Regions from separate parts of the Homo sapiens genome. Here region 2 is linked to region 1. The links are contacts of gene promoters, found by promoter capture Hi-C in human tissues and cell types (Jung and others, 2019). All regions are on one chromosome and are shown on one strand. The core of a region is centred on a gene start or on the middle of the fragment in contact, and the rest is flanking DNA. Distances in the headings are between cores, read along the strand shown.

The links. The method cuts DNA at HindIII sites, captures the fragments that hold promoters and counts their contacts. A contact is called where the count stands out against the background at its distance.
Region 2: a fragment that was not itself captured here is called in contact with the fragment with the promoter of GP5 in region 1 in 3 of the 25 tissues and cell types used here (IMR-90 fibroblasts, bladder and stomach).

What each region holds. Positions count from the first base shown.
Region 1 is chr3:194,397,437-194,401,670 of GRCh38, reverse strand. GP5 (glycoprotein V platelet) reads left to right here and starts at 2,405. Exons shown (of 2, transcript NM_004488.2): 1 at 2,405-2,433; 2 at 3,387-4,234. The coding sequence starts at 3,389. RefSeq lists enhancers at 469-1,021, 1,022-1,575. The HindIII fragment of the contact is 10,737 bases long and covers 1-4,234 here.
Region 2 is chr3:194,606,908-194,611,141 of GRCh38, reverse strand. TMEM44 (transmembrane protein 44) reads left to right here. Exons shown (of 10, transcript NM_001011655.3): 8 at 122-226. It overlaps LOC105374291 (a long non-coding RNA gene), which reads right to left. Exons shown (of 4, transcript XR_007096222.1): 4 at 4,143-4,234. Among named protein-coding and RNA genes, the nearest start is that of TMEM44-AS2, 24 kb to the left of the region's middle. The HindIII fragment of the contact is 4,521 bases long and covers 1-4,234 here.

The DNA.
Region 1 (4,234 bases), core at 1,156-3,655:
TTCCTGGGGAAATAGGCTAAAGAAGGGCCACAGGAATTTGAGCCATCGGCATCTTACTCTGTTTCACAGCTCGCCTTCCCAGTCTGTCATGTTGGCTCCCTGGCAATTTCATGGGCAAGGGGGCGGGGAGGCTTTCACTCGATGTGCCTATGCATGACGGACTTACCAGGTCACCAGTGTAGCAGTTCAGGGCTCTGGAGTTGCATTCCTTGATCGGAACTGAAAGACCTCCCGCGATACCTGGCAGAGGCAGTGGCTCTTCCCTGTGGTCCAGGGCTGCGTGACTTTGAAGGTAATTTCAGTCAACCCAGCCTTTACTGGGCTCTGACTGCATTAGGCTGCATCAAAGGGGATTGGATCCCATGATTCTTTATATCTTCTGACATTAAGCCTTTGTCAGCTATAGGTGTTACAAATATCTTTAGTTTGTGGTTTATCTTTTCCCCTTTTTTATGGTGTCTTGAAGGATAGAAGTCTTTTTTTTTTTTTTTTTTTTTTTTATTGATCATTCTTGGGTGTTTCTCGCAGAGGGGGATTTGGCAGGGTCATAGGACAACAGTGGAGGGAAGGTCAGCAGATAAACAAGTGAACAAAGGTCTCTGGTTTTCCTAGGCAGAGGACCCTGCGGCCTTCCGCAGTGTTTGTGTCCCTGGGTACTTGAGATTAGGGAGTGGTGATGACTCTTAACGAGCATGCTGCCTTCAAGCATCTGTTTAACAAAGCACATCTTGCACCGCCCTTAATCCATTTAACCCTGAGTGGACACAGCACATGTTTCAGAGAGCACAGGGTTGGGGATAAGGTCACAGATCAACAGGATCCCAAGGCAGAAGAATTTTTCTTAGTACAGAACAAAATGAAAAGTCTCCCATGTCTACTTCTATCCACACAGACCCGGCAACCATCCGATTTCTCAATTTTTTCCCCACCCTTCCCGCCTTTCTATTCCACAAAACTGCCATTGTCATCATGGCCCATCCCCAATGAGCCGCTAGGCACACCTCCCAGACGGGGTCGTGGCCGGGCAGAGGGGCTCCTCACTTCCCAGTAGGGGCGGCCGGGCAGAAGCGCCCCCCACCTCCCGGATGGGGCGGCTGGCCGGGCAGAGGGGTCCTCACTTCCCAGTAGGGGCGGCCGGGCAGAGGCGCCCCTCACCTCCCGGATGGGGCGGCCGGCCGGGCGGGGGGCTGACCCCCCCACCTCCCTCCCGGACAGGGCGGCTGGCCGGAAGTCTTAATGCAGACAGCATTATCAGTGTGTTCAAAAGACACGTAGACACGTTTTGCCTATAGACAAATGGGCAAAAGGAAACCCAGCTTTCTCAAATGAAGCACAAGTGGGCCTTAATTATGTGAAAAGGTGTTCAAGTTCATCATTAAACAGGGAAAGGAAAAGTTAAAATCATGCTGAGATATCTTTCATAGAAATGGCAAAAAGCAGGAAGTGCCACGTGTGGGCAGAGAGGAAGCACAGGAACTCTCACAAATGGCAGGTGTCATCGTAGACCAACACAACCACTTTGGAGAGCAGTTTGACTTTCCCCAGTTAAACTGAACATGTGAGCGGCCGGGCGTGGTGGCTCATGCCTGTAATCCCAGCAGTTTGGGAGGCCGAGGCGGGCGGATTGCCTGAGCTCAGGAGTTCAAGACCAGCCAGGGCAACACGGTAAAACCCCGTCTCTACTAAAATACAAAAAATTAGCTGGGCGTGATGGTGTGTGCCTGTAATCCCAGCTACTTGTGAGGCCGAGGCAGGAGAATTGCTTGAACCAGGGAGCAGGAGGTTGCAGTGAGCCGAGATCGCACCACTGCACCCCAGCCTGGGCGACAGAGTCCCCCTCCCCCACCAAAAAAACAACAAGTGAGCATCCTGCAACCTAGCAATGCCATTGTTGAACAAGTTCAAAGATGTTCTTAGCCTTATTAGTCCCAAAAGGAAGAAAAAAATGGAGGATTTGAGAATGTTCTTAGCTTTATTGCTAAGCGGAGAAAGAAAAACAACACATACCAAAAAAAAAAAAAAAAAAAAAAAAAAAAAAAAAAAAAACCTGGGTGGGAAATTAGGGCCATGTGGCATGAAAAGGAAGACCCAGGGGAAGTGTGGCCCATCTAGGGGTGTGGCTACTGCAGTGATCCAGCTGTATCACTGAACTTCCCTGGCATCATAGAGTTATATTGTGCCATTTATGGAAAAACTCTCCCCACTGCTCTTGGCTTTGACAGTAGGAATCAGGTTATATATGGTCTCTCGGTTTGAAGATATTTGTCATTAAAAACCAGAACAAGGGCTCTGAGATAGGGTCCTTTCCTGACCTACTCTGGTAAAGTCTTTATCCTCAGGATGCAAGGATACCACCCTCTTCCTGTGGAAAGTGTCGAATCACATGCAGAGCTCTAAGTCTTTCAGTTACTTTGGAGTGCAGAACCATTTCAGGTAAGGCCAAATATTTTAAACATTAGTATAGGAAATTAGAGGGCTCTTTAGTCTGTGTGTGCATGAGAAGTAAAATTGCACGAGAAGCAATTTATGTAAAATTTCGCTTAGGAAACATTGTTTTGGCAGGTTAGTAGTATGGTGTGCATTTCCCAGAAAATTCAGTGCCGTGAGTATTACCTTTAGTTAAGCATCTTAGAAATAGTAGCTCTTTATGGCTAAGTCAGAAATACTACCCTCAAATTCTATGTGACCCTAGTTATACTGTTGAGCCTTTCTGTGCCTCTGTGCCTTCATCCTTGAATCGGGGATAATATACTTACCTCCTAAGGTTATTGTAAGGATTAAATGCATGTAGTATAAATAAAGAGCTGAGAACAATGCATGGCGTAAAGTGATAGGTATTATTATATGCTTTTGTTGGCTGTTGATTGAAGGTGTTCGCTGTTTTGGGGGTGTCCTTTAATAGAGTAACTTGGTACTGTGGAAATAGCATGATTGTGAGCAAAAGAATCAGATGGTGGTGGCTGCAGACTTTGCTGTTCCCTTCTTGACTGTTGGTTATAGCCAATGCAGGGTAAGTTATAAAGTCAAGAGCAGAGCCGTTTTCACAATGGACATTGCTTTGTGATGTCTGTGAGCTTGAATGTGAGAATGATTATTTTAATTCTCTATGTAAGGACTTTAAAGTATTGGCTATTCGGTAGCTTGAAAACTCTGTAATCTCAATGCTTTAAACTGAGAGTGGAAAATCAATAAAGCAAAAGCATGAGGCCACGCAGTGTAGAATGAGTGTCTTTTCACCACGTAGGGAAATCTGTAGTCCTAAGAAAAGAGGGAGTGAGAATTCTGGCGAAAGGATTGTGCCTCTGCACAAAGTGCAGGATCCCAGGGTTCAGTACAGGCGCGAACGCTCCTGTGTGTTGACCACACTCCCACGGTTGCTTTTTCAGACATGCTGAGGGGGACTCTACTGTGCGCGGTGCTCGGGCTTCTGCGCGCCCAGCCCTTCCCCTGTCCGCCAGCTTGCAAGTGTGTCTTCCGGGACGCCGCGCAGTGCTCGGGGGGCGACGTGGCGCGCATCTCCGCGCTAGGCCTGCCCACCAACCTCACGCACATCCTGCTCTTCGGAATGGGCCGCGGCGTCCTGCAGAGCCAGAGCTTCAGCGGCATGACCGTCCTGCAGCGCCTCATGATCTCCGACAGCCACATTTCCGCCGTTGCCCCCGGCACCTTCAGTGACCTGATAAAACTGAAAACCCTGAGGCTGTCGCGCAACAAAATCACGCATCTTCCAGGTGCGCTGCTGGATAAGATGGTGCTCCTGGAGCAGTTGTTTTTGGACCACAATGCGCTAAGGGGCATTGACCAAAACATGTTTCAGAAACTGGTTAACCTGCAGGAGCTCGCTCTGAACCAGAATCAGCTCGATTTCCTTCCTGCCAGTCTCTTCACGAATCTGGAGAACCTGAAGTTGTTGGATTTATCGGGAAACAACCTGACCCACCTGCCCAAGGGGTTGCTTGGAGCACAGGCTAAGCTCGAGAGACTTCTGCTCCACTCGAACCGCCTTGTGTCTCTGGATTCGGGGCTGTTGAACAGCCTGGGCGCCCTGACGGAGCTGCAGTTCCACCGAAATCACATCCGTTCCATCGCACCCGGGGCCTTCGACCGGCTCCCAAACCTCAGTTCTTTGACGCTTTCGAGAAACCACCTTGCGTTTCTCCCCTCTGCGCTCTTTCTTCATTCGCACAATCTGACTCTGTTGACTCTGTTCGAGAACCCGCTGGCAGAGCTCCCG
Region 2 (4,234 bases), core at 978-3,477, 210 kb before region 1:
TTAAAAAAGAGAGAGAGAAAATACCACGGGGGTCCTTTTGAATAAAATGTGACCTTGTTTTTAGAAAATGCCTCCTGACTTTGAGAATTCCCCTTTCTGTCTCCCTGCCTCTACTTGCAAGAATTTGGATTGGGTGCCTCTCACCACACTGTCACACTGCAAGTCACTGAGGACAATGACAGCAATCAGTCGCTACATGGAGCTGACCATCGAGCCTGTGCAGCAGGTGAGTGGCCATCGGTCATGGCCAGGTGTCTGAGAGGATGGGAAGCAGTCATGGAAGGCTTCCTGGAGGAGGTGATGCTTTAGCTGAGGGATGAGCAGGAGAAAACAAGAGAAGCAGGTAAAAAAGAAGGAGCTGTCCAAGGCTGCAGTGGAGGGGCAGATATGGGGGAGTGTTGGAGAGAAAAATATTTTCCCTGTCCCCTCTGATGAAACACAGAGTAACAAGAAAAAACAGCTTTAAATGTACAAAGAAAAATGTGGCTCAAGGAGGTGGCCAGTTGATGGAGGCGTATATACCATATTAGGCTAAATCAAGAAAAAGAGGTTTGGGGTTCTGGGGTGGGAGGCAAGGTGAGGGAGGACCTGTGTGGGAAATAAGGGTTTTCTTGCTATGCAGGTGAGAGTCTCTCGGGTGGAAGTAGCTCTCTTCCTGGTGCAGAAATATCTTTACAAATGGAAATTTCCTTTATGAAAGGGAAAATGTGTACTCTCTTTTCAGGCAGTTAGGGGAGGTTAATAGCTTCTGCTTCTGCTGGTTTTCAAAGACCTTTAGATCTAAGGAATCCATATGCTAAAGAGGCATATTTCGGGGTGGTATATGCTGGTACCATTTAGGAGTGAGGGGAGATGAAAGGGCTGGAGGAGGCAGGGGTCGGGTCGTTTAGACACGGAGTCTATCATCTTTTTCTCTCTTTTTTTTTTTTGAGACACTCTGTCGCCCAGGCTGGAGTACAGTGGCATGATCTCAGCTCACTGCAGCCCCCCGGGTTCAAGTGATTCTCCTACCTCAGCCTCCAGAGAAACTGAGACTACAGGAGCCTGCCACCACGCCCAGCTAATTTTTGTATTTTTACTAGAGACGGGGTTTCACCATGTTAGCCAGGCTGGTCTCGATCTCTTGACCTCGTGATCTGCTGGCCTCGGCCTCCCAAAGTGCTGGGACTACAGGTGTGAGCCACTGCGTCCGGCCGTGTCTATCATCTTGAGAGTGATGGGAGTCAGGAGGCTTGAGTACTGGAGACTCAGGGTCAGATGTGCATTTTAGAGCCATCTGGGGAAGTTGTTGCGGGTGGCCTGGGGGAGAGGAGAGTAGCAGCCGAGCAGTCAGTCAGGGCCAGTTGGAAGCCCGAGGAAAAGGAAGTGTGGCCTAAACTGAGGTTGGAGCAGACGGAGAAGCAGAGACAGAGTTGAGCGAGTTGGGAAGTGGAGCGCTGGAGGGGTGAGGAGGTGCGGGTGAGGGAGGCAGGGCTCCGGGTGACTCCCTGAGTTCTGGCCTACACGAGGGGTCCTCAGGAGGAAGAGAATTGGGAAAGAGGTGACGAGAAGTTCACCCCATGTCCCACTATTCCACCAAGACTGTCTTGTCGAGGTCACCGATGACCTCCAAGCTGCTAAGTCCACCATCATTCCATTCTGAGAGTCCACGCACTCGGCCACCAGCTGCTCCTGGCGTCTGTGGCCCCCACTCTTCTGTGTTTCCTGCCACCCTCACAGGCTCTTCTTTCCCCTCGGCCTCTGCTGGCTCCTCTGGGTAAGCTTGACTGTAGAGAGGGAGTCCAACGCCCTGTCCCAGGCAGGCTCCCTGCTCCTGGTGGGCCCTGCAGTCCCACAGTCCCCTCGCTCTGCACACCAGTTCTTGCTGACTTCCCCCATTCGTGTCTCCGTCCTTTCCCCTCCCCTCAGTTCCCATCTCGGCTGCCCAGCTGCCCATTCAGCTGTCACCATATGGCATCTCACGCTTACCTCGTCCAACACAGAATTCTGGATTTCCATGCCCAGACCGGCTCCTCTCCCCATCTTCCTCATCTTAGTAAATGACGCACTGTCTTTGCAGTGGTTCAAGCCCAAAATTCCTCTTTCCCTGGCCACACCCCCATGCCCATCCATTCCTTTTGAGAGTCCTGTAAATGCTTCCTTATTTAAACTAGGTCTTGAGTCCAGCAGCCTCCTGGCTGTCATCCTCTCCACTTCTTCTGTGGTCCTGCCCTGCCCATCTCTAACGAGCAGCCAGAGGGATCATTCACAAATGTAAATGACATCTTGTTCCTCCTTTGTTTAAAACACTCCTCTGGGCCAGAGCTCTTGGTGGCCCACACCTGTAATCCTAATACTTTGGGAACCTGAGGTAGGAGTATCGCTTGAGGCCAGGAGTTCGAGACCAGCCTGGACCACATAGCGAGACCCCATCTCTCGTCTCCTGTTCACTCCTGTCTAGCTGCACAGAGTTTCTCTCCATTCCTCTGCCCAGAATGCTCTCCCTCCTGATTTTTCACAGCTGCCTCTTTCTTGTCTTTCCAGCTTCAACGTAAATGTCTGCTTCTCCAGAGCTCTTCCCTAACCACCCAGTCCGAAGCAGGACCCGTCTGTCCTTCTCCTCTATTTTATTACCTATTGAAATTCTCTGCAAAGCACTTATCACGATCTTTTACTTTGGTTTGTCTGTGTCCTGCTGAGATGTAAACTTTATCTCCTGTCTCGTTGACTCCTGGTGCCTATAACCTTGCAGTCCTGGGCTCTCAGTAAAGGTGTGTTTTGAATATATGGTCCAGTGGTGAGGGCCCCTGCCAGGCTGCCCAGACACACCGGTGCCCGGAGAGACTCGGCTGAGAGAGAGGTTTTGCTGTTTGCTGTTGTTGCTCCTTGTATACTGGGTGCACAGAACCTTGTGTATGACCTAAGTGAAGTTCAGAGAGATTCAGAGCATGCCTTTGTAGCTAAGAGCCCACTTCAGCCATTAAACCATCCTTCCGAAGGGAGGGAGGAGGCAGGGTGTGTGGGGAACCCTTGGGAAGGCACGGGAGTTCCTGCAGCATCTGGCCAAAGCTTTGCACTGGGAAGTTCTACATCATGGGACTTCTGAAGGAGAATGTGTAAAAGTTGTATTCACTTTAACCCTTCCAGTAGCTCAGTGTCGAAGGGATTCTTGTTGGGGAACAGACTCCATGAAAGAAGAGTGTGTTCCACCTTCATTCCCTCCCACTGAAGCCCACAAGTGCGTCTTTGAGCTTCCACCCAGCTTTTTCCTTCTGTGTCCATCAGAGGGCTAGAGGGAGCCCCGAGCCCCACTGTCCAGCTGGGCTGGCAGGTGCCTCCCTCAGCACTAGGGGCACCCCTCCCATCATAGCCTGTCTACTGAGGGTTAGGGACTTGCCAGGCTCTGAGTAAACAACAGCAGCCAACACTTACGTGGTACTTATGGGCCAGAGTACTGGTCTAAGTGCTTTACACACATTAACTTGCCCCACAGCCGACTCCTGAGTATTATACTCATTTTACAGATAAGGAAACTGGGGGCTGGAGCAGTTAAGTGACCTGCTCAAGGTCACACAGTTTGTCAGTGATAGAACCGGATTCAGACCTGTCTCTACCCGAGTTTGTGCCATTGACCTCTATGCTGTACAGCCTTGTACTTGGCATAATGACACCAAGTAAACACTTGATAAATGGCGATTTATTATTAATAAAATAATACTGTTTACCATGTAAGTGTTAATAAAAATGAGCCCAACAACTGTATGAGGAAGGATCCTAGTGTGTTTTGCATTGCCATAAAGGAACACCTGAGGCTGGGTAATTTAGAAAGAATAGAGGTTTATGTGGCTCGTGGTTCTGCATGTTTACGTGGTGCCAGCATCTGCACTGGTGAGGCCTCAGGCTGCCTCCACTCATGGGGGAAGGCAAAGGCAAGCAGGCTTCACATGGCAGGAGAGAGAGGAAGGGGTGCCAGGCTCTTTCTAACAAGCAGTTCTTGCAGAACAAAGTGAGAGCTCACTTACCAGAAGGGCCCTTCCACCAGGATCCAGACACCTCCCACCAGGCCCCACTTCCAACACTGGGATCACATTTCAACATGAGACACGCTGGGGCCAAACAAACCACATCCAAACCATAGCAGAGAGATACTATTATTATTTCTATTTTGTTTTATTTTTATTTTTTCTTTTATTCTTTCCTTTTTTTTTTTGAGGCAGAGTCTCGCTCTGTCGCCCAGGCTGGAGTGCAGTGGCAC